3 separate regions of the Homo sapiens genome follow, and all the other regions are linked to region 2. Evidence: promoter capture Hi-C in 16 types of primary human blood cells and fetal thymus (Javierre and others, 2016). All regions are on one chromosome and are shown on one strand. Each heading gives the region's core, a stretch centred on a gene start or on the middle of the fragment in contact. The rest is flanking DNA. Distances are from core to core; before and after follow the strand shown. Region 1 overlaps LOC124904790. Region 2 holds the start of NUMBL (NUMB like endocytic adaptor protein). Region 3 holds the start of CYP2B6 (cytochrome P450 family 2 subfamily B member 6).

Region 1 (4,823 bases), core at 1,729-4,228, 460 kb before region 2:
CATGAGCCACCGTGCCTGGCTGAAAGTATTATTTTTGACTAAGTCCAGTTTGTCAATTTTTTCCTTTATGATTAGTGATTTTTGAGTCCCATGTTAAAAAAAAAAAAAGATCTACTTCAAGGTTTTGAAAATATGTTTTTAGAAGTTCTTTAGCTTTAGTCTGTACTTTTAGATCTCTGACCTATTTCAAGTTAATTTTTGTGTATGATGTGAAGTAAAAGGCAGGGTTCGTTTTGTTTCCATGAGGCTATTTAGTCATTCTACCATTTGTTGAAAATACTGGCCAGGTGTGGTGGCTCACACCTGTAATCCCAGCACTTTGGGAGGCCAAGGTGGGTGAATCACAAGGTCAGGAGTTCGAGACCAGCCTGGCCAACATGGCGAAACCCCGTCTCTACTAAACATACAAAAATCAGCTGGGCATGGTGATGCATGCCTGTAGTCCCAGCTACTCGGGAGGGTGAGGCAGGAGAATTGCTTGAACTGGGACCCGGGAGGCAGAGTTTGCGGTAAGCCAAGATTGAGCCACTGCACTCCAGCCTGGGCTACAGAGCAAGACTCCTCAAAAAAAAAAAAAAAAAAAAAAAAGAAAAAAAAAGAAAAAGAAAATACTGTCTTTTCTCCACTGAATTATCTTAGCATCTTTGTCAGTAATCAATTGAAAGCAGGTGAGGGAGGCTGAGGCAGGAGGATCGCTTGAGTCCAAGAGTTTGAGACCAGCCTGTTAAACACAGTGAGACCCCCAACTCTAAGAAAAAAAAATTCTATTGACCACATATTTATGGACTTCCTAGTTTATTCCATTCATCTCTTTCTATCGGAATCCCAGTACACCTTGCCTTTATTACTGTAGTGTGTGTGTGTGGTTTTTTGTTTTTTTGAGACAGAGTCTTGCCCTGTCACCCAGGCTGGAGTGGAGCAGTGCCATCATGACTCACTGCAGCCTAGACCTCCTGGGCTCAAGCGGTCCTCCCACCTCAGCCTCCTGAATAGCTAGGACCACAGGCACATGCCATCATGCCTGGCTAGTTTTTTAAGTTTTTGTAGAGATGGGTTCTCACTATATTGCCCAGGCTGGTCTTGAACTTCTAAGCTCAAGTGAACTTCTGGGCTCTTGCATTGGCCTCCCAAAGTGGTGGGATTACAGGCATGAGCCACAGTGCCCAGCCTATTACTGTAGTTTTATTATAAATTTTGATATTAATATAAATCCTTCCATTTGGCTTTTCTTTTTCTTTTTTTTTTTTTTTTTGAGACGAAGTTTCACTCTGTCCAGGCTGCTGGAGTGCAGTGGCGCGATCTTGGCTCACTGCAAGCTCCACCTCCTGGGTTCACGCCATTCTCCAGCCTCAGCCTCCCAAGTAGCTGGGACTACAGGCGCCCACCACCACGCCTGGCTAATTTTTTTGTATTTTTAGTAGAGACGGGGTTTCACTGTGTTAACCAGGATGATCTCCATCTTCTGACCTCGTGATCCACCCACCTCGGCCTCCCAAAGTGCTGGGATTACAGGCATAAACCATAAACCACTGTGCCCGGCCTCTTTTTTTTTTTTTTTTTTTTTTTTTTTTGAGTGGGAGTCTCACTCTGCCACCCAGGCTGGAATGCAGTGGTGCAATCTCAGCTCACTGCAACCTCTGCTTCCCGGGTTCAAGTGATTCTTGTGTCTCAGCCTCCCAAGTAGCTGGGATTACAGGCACAAGCCCCCACACTCGGCTAATTTTTTGTATTTTTAGTAGAGACGGAATTTCACCATTTTGGTCAGGCTAGTCTCGAACTTCTGACCTCAGGTGATCCGCCCGCCTTGGCCTCCCAAAGTGCTGGGATTATAGGCATGAGCCACTGTGCCAGCCTGGTTTTTCTCTTTTTTTTTCTTTTTTTTTGAGACAGGGTCTTGCTCTGTCTCCCAGGCTGGAGTGCAGTGGTACCATCTCGGCTCCCCGCAACCTCTGCCTCCTGGGTTCATGTGATTCTCCTGCCTCAGCCTCCTGAGTAGCTGGGACTACAGGCGTGCGCCACCACACTTGGCTCATTTTTGTATTTGTAGTAGAGATGGGGTTTACCATGTTGGCCAGGCTGGTCTTGAACTCCTGACCTCAGGTGATCTGCCTGCCTCAGCCTCCCAAAGTGCTGGGATTACAGGTGTGAACCACTGCGCCCAGTCTGGTTTTTCTTTTTCAAGATGTTTGGCTCTTGTTGATCCTTTACATTGCCATATAAATTGTAGCCTCAGCTTGACAATTTCTATAAATAAATAAATAAATAAATAAAGCTTGCTGGTATTTCAATTTTGTCTGGGATTCATTTACTCTACAGATGAACACTATTATCTTTTATTACTATTATTATTTTTTGAGATGGAGTTTCACTCTTTGCCCAGGCTGGAGTGCAGTGGCGCTATCTCTGCTCAATGCAACCTTCATTTCCCGGGTTCAAGCTGTTCTCCTACCTCAGTCTCCCTAGGGATTATAGGTGTGTGCCACCATGCCCAGCTAATTTTTTTGTATTTTTAGTAGAGATCGGTTTCACCATGTTGCCCAGGCTGGTCTCGAACTTCTGACCTCAAGTGATCCACCCGCCTCGGGCTCCCAAAGTGCTGGGATTACAGGTGTGAGCCACTGCGCCTGGGCTGGAGCACTAATATCTTAATATTGAGTAATCTGATTCTTGAACATGGTGGATCTCGCCCCTTACTCAAGTCTTATTCTGTTTCCTTCTTTAATGTTTTGTGGTTTTCAGTGTACTGGTTTTGCACATATTTTATTAAATGTATCTCTTAGTATTTCATGATTCAGATGTGATGGGAAATTTTATATATACATATGTATATATGTGTGTGTGTGTGTGTGTATATATATATATATATATATATATATATATATTTTTTTTTTTTTTTTTTTTTTTTTTTTTTTTTTTTTTGAGATGGAGTCTCACTCTGTAGCCCAGGCTAGAGTAAAGTGGTGCGATCTTGGCTCACTGCAACCTCCGCCTCCCGGGTCCTGGTCCAAGCAATTCTCCTGCCTCAGCCTCCCGAGTAGCTGGGATTACAGGCATAAGCCATCATGCCCAGCTAATTTTTGTATTTTCAGTAGAGACAGGGTTTCACCTTGTTGGCTAGGCTGGTCTTGAACTCCTGACCTCGTGATTCACCCTCCTTGGCCTCCCAAAGTGCTGGGATTACAGGCATGAGCCACCGTGCCCGGCCGGGGAATTATATATTTTTAAATGTCAATACAAAAAGGGCATACAACAAATGAATATAGCTCAATGAATTGATACCAAGTGTACACCCAGGTTAAGAGACAGAATGTTGCCTACATGCCAGATGCCTGCTACTGTTTCTCCCATGACTATCCCCTCCCTTCTTCCAATGGAAAGGATTTTTTTTACACTTTTATAGCATTTTAGCATTTCATGATTGGTTTAGCATTTCACTTCCTAAGTATGCATAATTAAATGCCTGTTTTGGGGCACTTTGCACAAAAGGAACAAGTAATACGTATTGTTTTACGTCTGGCTCCTTTGCTCAAAATTATGTTTCTTAGATTTATCCTGTTTATTGTATATTGTTCATTCATTTTCCTTGCTTTATACTAATTCGTGTTATGAATATATGACACTTAATCTGTTCTCCTTTGCCTTCATTTTTAGGTATCACCTACATACAGTAGAATGCAAAGCTTTTAAGCACACAGCTTACTGAGACATGTCCATAATAGATATAGGCATCCAGGCATGGTGGCTCATGCTTGTAATCCCAGCACTTTGGGAGGCCGAGGCGGGTGGCTCACTTGAGGTCAGGAGTTTGAGACCAGCCTGGCCAGCATGGCAAAACCCCATCTCTACTAAAAACACAAACAATTAGCCAGGTGTGGTGTCTGGTGCCTGTAATCTGAGCTGCTCAGGAGGCTGAGGCAGGAGAATCGCTTGAAACTGGGAGGTGGAGGTTGCAGTGAGCCAAGATTATGCAATACAGTGAGACCCTGTCTTTCCAAAAAAAAAAAAAAAAAAAAGACTCTCATCTAAGATTCCAGAGGCATCAAGACAGTCAAAGGCAAGGGCTCTAGAACCAGAGAGCTGGGCTTTGATCCTGGCTCTGAACTCCTATCAGAAAAGTGACCTTGATTAAGTTATGTGATTTCTTCATGCCTCAGTTTCCCCAGTGGTAAAATGGGATAATTTTAGAGATATGTGGTGAAAACATTTATAGGTGAATTTATGCGAGGTCTGGGCTTTGCTTCAAAATAATCCCAATTTTTGGGGAGTTGGGGAAGGAGGTTGTTGGGAGCACAGATGAAACAAGATTGGCCATGAGTTGATCATTGTTGAAGCTGGGTGATGGATATACTTTTCTTTGTTTTGTTTTGAGACTGAGCCTCACTGTATCACCCAGGCTGGAGTGCAGTGGCGCGTTCTCGGTTCACTGCAACCTCTGACTCCCGGGGTCAAGCGATTCTCATGCCTCAGCCTCTCGAGTAGCTGGGATTACAGGCACGTGCCACTGCACCCAAATTATTTGTGTATTTTTAGTAGAGACGGAGTTTCATCATGTTGGCCAGGCTGGTCTCGAAATCCTGACCTCAAGTGATCTGCCTACTTTGGTCTCCCAAAGTGCTAGGATTATAGGTGTGAGCCACTGCGCCCGGCTGCATGTAGTCTTATATCTACTCTTGTGTATGTTTGATATCATCCACAAATAAAACAGTTTTTTCAAATAAAAGTAAAAAGTGAAGGACATGAATAGACGATTCTCAAAAGAAGATATACAAATGGCCAGCAAACCTATGAAAAAAATGCTCACCATCACAAATTATCAGGGAAAT
Region 2 (4,598 bases), core at 948-3,447:
GATACCCGGGGACTGGGGGACTCTAGGAGGGGCTTGTCTCCACTAGGGAGAATGGAGGCTGTGTGTCTATACCTGGGGAGTGGGTGACTCTAGGAGGGATGCTTATCCATGCTGGGGGCTTTGGGGAGGAGTGGGGGGAGGTGGCTGCCTGACTTCTCAGGAACCCTGGGAACATGGGCACCGTGGATCTGTTCAGGAGGGGCGAAGGCCGCTTCTCTGTTGTAGAGAGAGTAGAGGGCTACTTGTCTGTTGGAGGCTCTGCAGGGAAGTAAGGGGTGCTTACTCGGGGAATAGGCAGCTGCTTGTCTAGTCCAGGCTCTGGAAGGAGTGGAAGCTGCTCACTCTTGGGGGAGTCGGGGCTTGTGTTGATGGTGGAGACTGGAGGGAGTGGAGGCTACACGTTGTTTCTGGGTTATGCAGAGGGCTCTATGTCCACACTGGCTGCCTTTGCTCTCCCCCCACCCCCACTCCCAGGCATTCTCCGACGCCCACGTGGAGGCAGTGATGATCCTGGGGGAGCCTTTCGCCACCCAGGGCCCTTATGACTTTGGGTCGGGGGAAACGGCCCGCCGCATACAGGACCTCATCCCGGTGCTGCTGCGGCACCGGCTGTGTCCCCCACCCGAGGAGACCTATGCCCTGCACCGCAAGCTGGCAGGGGCTTTCCTGGCCTGTGCCCACCTCCGAGCCCACATCGCCTGCAGGGACCTCTTCCAGGACACCTACCACCGCTACTGGGCCAGTCGCCAGCCAGACGCAGCCACTGCCGGCAGCCTCCCCACCAAAGGGGACTCCTGGGTGGATCCCTCATGACAGCCTCCATGGGGGATTCAGTCCCCAGAGCAGGCCGTACCCTGCTGTAGTGCCTCTTATCCCTTCCCCGTCTGCCCTGGGTCAGAGGAGCCCCCTTGGGCTTCCCAGTCTTGCCTGGCTCTCCTCCTTGGCCCAGGAGCTCAGGATCCCTGGGGCTGGGGAACTCCCAACTTCGTGCCCTAGATCCTGCACCTCCCCACTCGAAAGTGGGTATCCGAAAACTAAGCCAGGGAAGCGGTTAACTTATCTTTGCCAACATTTGAGGGAGCCTTGGGCCGCTGCATGTCGTTATGCAGATCAGACTCATCAGGGGGAGCCCTCACCTCTGCCTCAAGCCTCCCGTGGAAGGCGAGATGGTCCTGGAGGCAGTCCTCACCTCTGCCTCCCTCGCTCCTCCAACAGCTGCCTTCTCCCGGGTTCCAGCCTCTCAGTGTGTTGGAGAGGTAGGGGTGCGGGGTGGGGGGGAGCTGAATCTTCAATCGGAATAAAAGCAGCCCTCCCCTTCCCCCAGCTCTTTTCTCTGCGCTAGGGTTGGGGGGAGAGGGGGAGGAGCTCGCCAGCGGCCTCCAGGTGCAGATGGCCAGCCCCCCTGCACCCCCTTGTCTGAAAGCCTCAGCCCTGCCTGTGCCATCTGTTGCCGGGAACCTCCTTCTCGCCTTCCCCACCCCCCCCCACGTGCTGACCACCTGCTCTAAGGGCTGTGGCAGCTGAGGCCTCCCACACACACAGTGCCTCTTGGCTGCGGGCTCCCTCCCCTCACTCCTGGCAACCTCGCCTTTACTAATGGGCTCTAATGTCCCTGCCAGCTGCTTTGCCAAACCCACAGGATTGGCGTAGGGGGCGGCGGGGGCGCCGTAGCGGCCAGAACCGCGCCCTGGTCCCACCCCGGCGCCCCCGTTCCCAAAGCCGAACCGATCGCGCATCAGGACGCCTTGGTCTGTTCACACCCCCTCCCCTTCCTTGCAAAAAGTGCCTCGTCACCGCTCCTGCCCGCCCCCGCCGGGCTGGGGAACCATGGGGTTAGCGGGAAGATTTGGGGGTGTGGGGCGGCAAGGCGCCTCTAGAAGCAACTCTTTCGGACGCGGAGCTGGAGGGGATCTGAGGTCAGGTGTCACGGAGGGAAAGGGAGCCCAGGCCAGGACGGACCGGGGGAAAGGACTCGGCGATGTTCATAGGCATGCTCAGCTCGGGACTGGCCAATGGGCGTGGCGGGGCGGTGGCCGCGCCGGGGAAGGCGGGATGGTGTCTGCGTGTGGGCGGGGTCTTCAGGCCAAGGGGCGGGGCGGGGCGGGACCTTTCTGCATATACGGCAGGCGGCGGGCCAATGGGCGGGGTCGGGGCGGGGAGCCGAGGCCGAGGGACGCTCCCCCGCCCCCGGAACGGAATCCTCCCGGGAGCCGAGGAGGCTCGCGCGCGTGCATCCCGCACCATCCCCCGGCCCCGGGCCCTGGCCGGCGTCAGACCGAGCTGCCGCCGCCACCACCGCAGCAGCAGCAGTCGGGGAGCCAGGCCCAGCCAGGGCCGCGGGAGGCGGGGGCGCCCGGGCCCTGGATGTCCCGCAGCGCGGCGGCCAGCGTGAGAAGGGCGGGAGAGGGGGGCTCGGGTCGGGGGCGGCGCCGCTGCTGATGTGGCGGAGGGTGGGAGGCGGCCGCGGCGCCCGGATGGAGAGAGGGTGCCAAGGCTGGAGAGGGTGGTCCCGGGTGGGGGTCCAGGAACAGGCCCAACAAGCCAAAGCCCAGGAGACCGGGGTCTTGGGCACAGACCCCTGGGCCATCTCTTGCCAAGGCCCTGGAAATAGGGATCCTGGACACAGACCCCCCACAAAACCAAGGACAGGGGTACAGAGATTCTAGGTACAACTCCTAGAACTAGATGGGGATGGAGATGGGGTCGGGGACACAGCCCCCGTATCAAACCAAGGCCTCCAGGACGCGATTCCAGACACAATCCCTACCTCTCCCTGCCTAAGGGGGTCTCAGCACAACAACTGCCTAGGTACGGTCTCGAGGATGGGGTCACTGGGTACAGCGTTCCCACCACGCCAAGGCCTAGGGGGACTCCAAGCACAGCCTGCCCCCAGGTCTCAGAGGCACCCTGGGCACAGCATCCCCCCAATCCTTGGGCGGAGTCCCAGGCACAGCCACTTCTCAAAACAAGGTCCCTGTGCCTGGGACTCCACCCCACCCCAGCCTGAATAAAATAAGGACAATTTCAGGCAACCCCCAATCCCTCCACCCCCTGGCTTGGTCATGGGTCCCAGGGCACAGGATCCCTAGGCCACCCCCTTTGTCCCCAGGGCTGCCCAGCTGTCCAAGAGTGGCCCCACCCGCAGACAATGCACCGCTTCCCCCTCCTGGACCTGGCCCTCAGGCTCCAGGATACAGGCTGGGCTGGGGGCGGCTCCCCAGGGACCGGGTGCAGCCCTGTCTGTCTGCAGTGTCTGCGGTGACGGTGACGGCGGCTTTGTGTGTGGTACCTGGGGGGAAGGGGGGAAGCAAGCGATGGGGAGGTGGCTAGGAGTGTGCCCTGTGTTTGTGTGACTGTGGCTGTGTATGTGTGTGTGTGTGTGCACGCGTACGCTGCAGCTGGTGACTGAGGAATCCTGTGTCGTGTGTGTGTGCTTGTGGTGGTGTCTATGATTGTGTCTGTGACCCTAGTATCTGTGTGACTGTGTATGTGTGTGTGACAGCTGCTCACTGTGCAGAATCCTGTACTTTTTAGTCTGTCTGTGTTTGGAGGTGTGCATGGTTGTGACTGTGGTTGTCTGTGATTGTGTCTTTTGTGACCCTGTGTTTGTATGCCTCGGTAACTATAACTGGGTATGTGACAGTATGTGTTGAGTCTGGGGGTGGGCATGCGTGTGACTGACAGGACGTGGGTGGAGTTGTGACTGTGTGTGAGTGGAGTTGTCTATGGCTCCATGTGCATGTGTGACCCTCCCAGTGACTGACAATGTTTATAGTTGTGTCTCTACCTGATTTTATATACGTGAGTGACACACACCTGTCTGTGCAACTCTGCCTGTGTGACTGCCATTGTGTCTGAAGTCACATTGTATCTGTGTGACTGGGGTTGTGTGACAGTATTGTGTATGACAGTGGTTGCGTATGCAGAACCATGTCTGAGTGTGTGACTGAGGTTGTATTAATATAAATGACTGTATCTAGCAGTGTGTGTGATAACGAGTGATTGTGTGTATTTCTAGCCTTGCATGTGTGATTTGGGTTATGTATTTGACTTGGTGTCTGAAACCCTGGCTATTTAGAGGGATTATTTGTGTGTGACTAAAGCTGTGGATGTGTCTCCGTGCTGGTGCCAGGAAATTATGTTTGTAGGGGTGTGTATATGATTATGGCTTCCATATTATTGTGTTTGACCTGCATGTCTGACCCTGGGTGACTATAGATGTCTGTGTCTATGTCATCATCTGTGAGAGTGTGGGGTCTGTAGCTGTGTGCCTGTTTTTGTCTCTGTGTGTATGTGCTGGACTACCTGTGTTAGAATGTGTGATTTGGTGATGAGATTGGCCCCTGACTGTGCACATGGCTCCGTCAGGACCTGTGTCTTCTGTGTAAACCCAGCTATAAATGCCACATCCTGGTCACTGCATTTATGTGCATACACTGGACTGTGTACTTGTGACATGGGAAACTAAAACTGTGTGCTTATGTCTCTATGTGTGAGATATGTGTGTAGGTGGGGCTTGTGACTTTGTGCACCTGTCCACACGGGGCTGTGATTCTATATGGCCACATACTTGTCTGTGTGACTTGTGTGCCTGCATG
Region 3 (4,566 bases), core at 395-2,894, 300 kb before region 2:
TTCCTCAAAGTTTATTACAGGCCCAGTGACTTCATTTTCTTCGTATTACCCTCCTGAGAGCCATCATAACAGTCTCCCTGATGTGTTGTATTTTCTCAAGAGTCTTGGCCGGGTGCGGTGGCTCACACATGTAATCCTAGCACTTTGGGAGGCCGAGGCAGGTGGATTGCTTGAGCCCAGGAGTTTAAGACCAGTCTGGGCAACATGGCAAAACCCTGTCTCTACAAAAAATACAAAAATTAGCTGGGCGTGGTGGCATGCACCTGTAGTTCCAGCTACTTGGGGGGCTGAGGCAGGAGGATCACTTGAGCCTTGGGAGGTCAAGGCTGCAGTGAGACGTGATCATGCCACAGCACTTCAGCCTGGCTGACAGAGTGAGGCCCTGTCTCAGAAAAAAAAAGAGTCTTAAATGCTCATATGCAGCCATTCTTTGTACATCCAGTGGGCTCATTACAGTGGGAACAACAAAAACATGAAGAAAAGGTAAAGAATCACTCAACTACGTTGACATTGTCCATTGTGAATTCCATACTGAGAGCAGACAAGTCCATTATGATGGTGACAGAAGTAATGTTGATGCCCAAGGTTTTGGTCAATCTCAAAATTTTGAGGCTGACCAAAAGGGGAGAATTGTTTAATTAAATTAAATTTGACCTAAAGCTCTCTCTGTAGAGTGAACTGCAACCTAACTTGGGAGTATATTCTTTTTTTTTTTTTTTTTTTTGAGAAGGAGTCTCACTCTGTCACCCAGGATGGAGTGCAGTGGTAAGATTTTGGCTCACTGCAACCTCTGCCTCCTGGATTCAAGTGATTCTCCTTCCTCAGCCTCCTGGGTAGCTGAGATTACAGGCACGCATCACTATGCCCAGCTAATATTTGTATTTTTAGTAGAGACAAGGTTTCACCATGTTGGCCAGGCTGGTCTCGAACTCCTGACCTCAGGTGATCCACCACCTCGGCCTCCAAAAGCACTGGGATTACAGGCATGAGCCACTGCACCTGGCCCAAATGAATATATTCTTGTGACAAGTAGCCAAGTGTTGGCTAATCAGAGCAGCTGGGCTTTCAGTCCACACAGGCTGCAAACTGCTCAGATTGTGACCAAGTAAGGCAAGCTGTGATCTGTGGCCAATCAGGCTGTTTCTGTATGTCACCTCCTTTTTCTGCCTGTAAATACCACTTGACCATACTGCCGTGTGGTGTCTTTCCTGGTTTAGGGAGCTGTCCAACTCATGAGTCACTTCTTTGCTCAAATAAACTCTGCTAAATTTAATTTGATGCTTTTCTCCTAATAATACCACCCATCATGCTTCACCATGCTCCGTACTCACCAACCATGCCCGTGCCACCCCTGACTCTGGAAGTCTGCCTCATTCTGTTTGGTGAAGCTTCCCCAAGTACCAAGGCAAGAAGCAGCTCACCCTCAGACCCCATTCGTCTGTGTCTTACCCTCAGAAAGGATTTGAGTAGGCCTCTTCTATCCATCTGCAGAAGGTTTCCCAAAAGGGGCAGAGGGCGGGGCCCTGGTGGGAGGCGGTCATGGGTGTTAGGGTGGCGCTGAACCAGGAGTAGCAAGAGTCCTGTGAGGAGTGCAAGGAAGAGGAGGACGCTGAGTTCCATGGTCCTGGTCTGACTGCCCTGCACCCTGCTGCAGCCTCCAACTGGGCCTTTTATCCTGACCCTGCCTCTGCACCCTGTTATAAAATTTCATCCATTCCCCACCTCCTTTTTCATCATCATCCAGGAGCATTAGCTTAGAAAAAGTTGTTAGGGAACCCAGACTTCCTGCTTGGGCAACCCAGTGACCTGATGCCTATCCCTTTACCCACTCTGTAGATATTGGCAGGGATACAGTGGTAGAGATATCAAAGTCCAGGTGAGCAAGTGAATGTGTGGGTGTGTGGGTTTGTGGGTATATGTATGTCTATTTTTGTAAGCATAGGTGAGCTTGCACTTTTTTACTTAGCTTTGTCTGTTTGTCTGTGCTTGCATGCATTTGTCCATGCCTGCTTGCATCCCTGTATGTGCTTATATGATTTTTACATGTAAAGGGGTGTTTGAATTTATGCAAATGTACTGGCGTATATTTCTGTGGTTGAATCTGGGGGTGCTTATGTGTGTATCCTTGCATGTGTATGAGCTTCCTTGTATTTATACAGTTTTATATACGAAAGTGCATTTACATTTGTGTGTTGTGGAGGTGGTGGTAGTGCATGTTCAAAACTGAGAGGCTGGCTGGGTGCGGTGGCTCACACCTGTAATCCCAGCACGTTGGGAAGCTGAGGGGGGCAGATCAATTGAGGTCAAGAGTTCGAGACCATCCTGGCCCACATGGCAAAACCCCATCTGTACTAAAAACACAAAAATTAACCGGGCGTGATGGTGGGTACTTTTAATCCCAGCTACTCGGGAGGCTGAGGCAAGAGAATCACTTGAACCTGGGAGGTGGAGGCTGCAGTGAGCCAAGATTACACCACTGCACTCCAGCCTGGGTGACACAGCAATACTCCATCTCAAAAAAAAAAAAAAAAAAAAAAAAAGGAGAAGCTGATGAAAATAAGGAATTATTCAATTCAATCAAATTTGGCCTACTGCCTTTGTAGCATAGCAAACTGTAACCTAGCAATACATGAACCAATTGTGTGTATCTGTGTGTGCTGGTGTATTTGTGCTGGTGTGTTGGTGGATCTCCTAGCCCCTCTCTTTGGAAGCCTGCAGATGCTGAGTCTATCTCCAGTGTCCCCTCCTTCATCCGCCCTTCTGTGACAGCCACAGGTGGAAGTGGTCGGAGAAACAGAAGGAGGAGCAAGAGATGCAGAACTGGTGAGTCTCAGAGGAAGAGGTGGTCAGTTGGAAGGAGACAGAAACTGAGACCTGGCAGGTACAGCGATCAGGTCCTCTTGGTTTCTGATCACTCTAACTAGTGCTAAGGAGTTTCTTCCCTGCCTCTGACTATCTTCACGGTGCAGGAAATTTCTCTGGCTCTCTCTCTGTCTGACTTTGTGTCTCTGTTTTCCCCCTGGAGACTCTTGAGCTCCAGGTGTGTGCAAACTGAGTCCAGTTTGATTGATGTCTACTGGACTCCCATATGTCTCTATCCTCACTGTGCACCTTCACCCACACATCCTCTGACAGGGTCAGTCCATCTTTGCAAAACGTGGGTGTGAATGTGTGCGTGTCTGCCTGTCTCATCCTACGCCTGACTTTTGACCATGAGGCAACATCTTTCTTGCAATGTTAAGCAAACCCTTTGCTGGATCCAGGACCTGAACCCGAAGTTACTTTGACCCAGGAGGAGCAGACAAACAGTCCTATTTGTAAGAGGTGGAAACTGTACTTTCCTGACCCTGAAGAGGTGGCAGCATGGACTTTCCTGAACCAAGGGCCTCGGTCTTGCTGTGCTGTGTCATCTGACACTAAGATTGGGTGCTCATTGCAGCCCCAGGGTGAAGCACCGATGGGGAGGCGTGAAGTGCTTTACACACAGTAACTCAGTCTTTACACTCTTAGTGAGGTATTGTTGCCATCCCCATTTTATAGATGGAGATATTGAAGCAATGACAGTTTGCAAGTCTTACCCAAGGTCATACAGTGGGTTGGGGCTACATTGTCCAATGTGATAGTCACTTGCTGCATGTGGCCACTAATTAAGTACTTGAAATGTGGTCCAAATGCTATTTACAATAGCAAAAATAGGGAATCAACAGATGAATGGTTAAATAAAATGTGGTATATATACACCATTGAATACTATTTAGCCATAAAAAGGAATAAAATAATGTCTTTTATAGCAACATGGATACAACTGGAGGGGATTATCTTAAGTGAAACAAGCCAGGCACAGAAAGTGAATATCACATGTTCTCATTCATAAGTGGGTGCTAAACAATGTGTACACATGGACATAGAGAGTGGCATTATCAGGGGAAATTCAGCCAGATATCGGGCAAAATTCACCCCCAATATTCCACGTAGGTTCTTTTCTGTTCTCCCTAAGTGTCGGCCAGCCTGAGAAATAAAGGGACAGAGCACAAAAGAGAGAAATTTTAAAGCTGGGGGTCCGGGGGAGACATCACATGTCGGCAGGTTCCATGATGCCCCCTGAGCCGTAAAACCAGAAAGTTTTTATTAGTGATTTTCAAAAGGGGAGGGAGTGTACGAATAGGGTGTAGGTCACAGAGATCACATGCTTCACAAGGTAATAAGATATAACAAGGCAAATGGAGGCAGGGCGAGATCACAGGACCACAGGACCGGGGTGAAATTAAAATTGCAATGAAGTTTCGGGCAAGCATTGTCATTGATAACATCTTATCAGGAGACAAGGTTTGAGAGCAGACAACCGGTCTGACCAAAATTTATTAGGCAGGAATTTCCTCATGGATCCTTTGCTCGATTGATCCTTTTATCATTATGTATTGACCTTCTTTGTCTCTTTTTACAGTTTTTGACTTAAAGTCTGTTTCCTTTATAAACATAGGTATTGCTGCTCACTTTTGGTTTTTATTTGCATGGAATATCTTTTCTCATTTCTTTACTTTCACTATATATGTCTTTCCTGGTGAG

Evidence for each region. Contacts are between HindIII fragments. The CHiCAGO score rates a contact against its expected background, and 5 or more counts as called.
Region 1: a fragment that was not itself captured here is called in contact with the fragment with the promoter of NUMBL in region 2 in 4 of 17 cell types (naive CD4 T cells, non-activated CD4 T cells, naive CD8 T cells and 1 more); the score reaches 6.1 in naive CD4 T cells.
Region 3: the fragment with the promoter of CYP2B6 here is called in contact with the fragment with the promoter of NUMBL in region 2 in 5 of 17 cell types (neutrophils, naive CD8 T cells, non-activated CD4 T cells and 2 more); the score reaches 9.9 in neutrophils.

Annotation. Positions count from the first base shown.
Region 1 is chr19:41,146,148-41,150,970 of GRCh38, reverse strand. The region is part of intron 2 of LOC124904790; the gene reads left to right. Among named protein-coding and RNA genes, the nearest start is that of CYP2F1, 34 kb to the right of the region's middle. The HindIII fragment of the contact is 1,408 bases long and covers 2,275-3,682 here.
Region 2 is chr19:40,688,250-40,692,847 of GRCh38, reverse strand. NUMBL (NUMB like endocytic adaptor protein) reads left to right here and starts at 2,197. Exons shown (of 10, transcript NM_004756.5): 1 at 2,197-2,388. The coding sequence starts at 2,365. COQ8B (coenzyme Q8B) reads left to right here. Exons shown (of 15, transcript NM_024876.4): 15 at 475-1,318. The coding sequence ends at 813. RefSeq lists silencers at 1,505-1,744, 2,065-2,404 and enhancers at 1,091-2,028, 3,244-3,293, 2,967-3,906. The HindIII fragment of the contact is 12,323 bases long and covers 1-4,598 here.
Region 3 is chr19:40,988,360-40,992,925 of GRCh38, reverse strand. CYP2B6 (cytochrome P450 family 2 subfamily B member 6) reads right to left here and starts at 1,644. Exons shown (of 9, transcript NM_000767.5): 1 at 1,450-1,644. The coding sequence starts at 1,620. RefSeq lists cis regulatory regions at 1,879-1,902, 3,277-3,289, promoters at 1,639-3,304, 1,605-3,873 and enhancers at 3,331-3,350, 3,333-3,380. The HindIII fragment of the contact is 6,148 bases long and covers 1,391-4,566 here.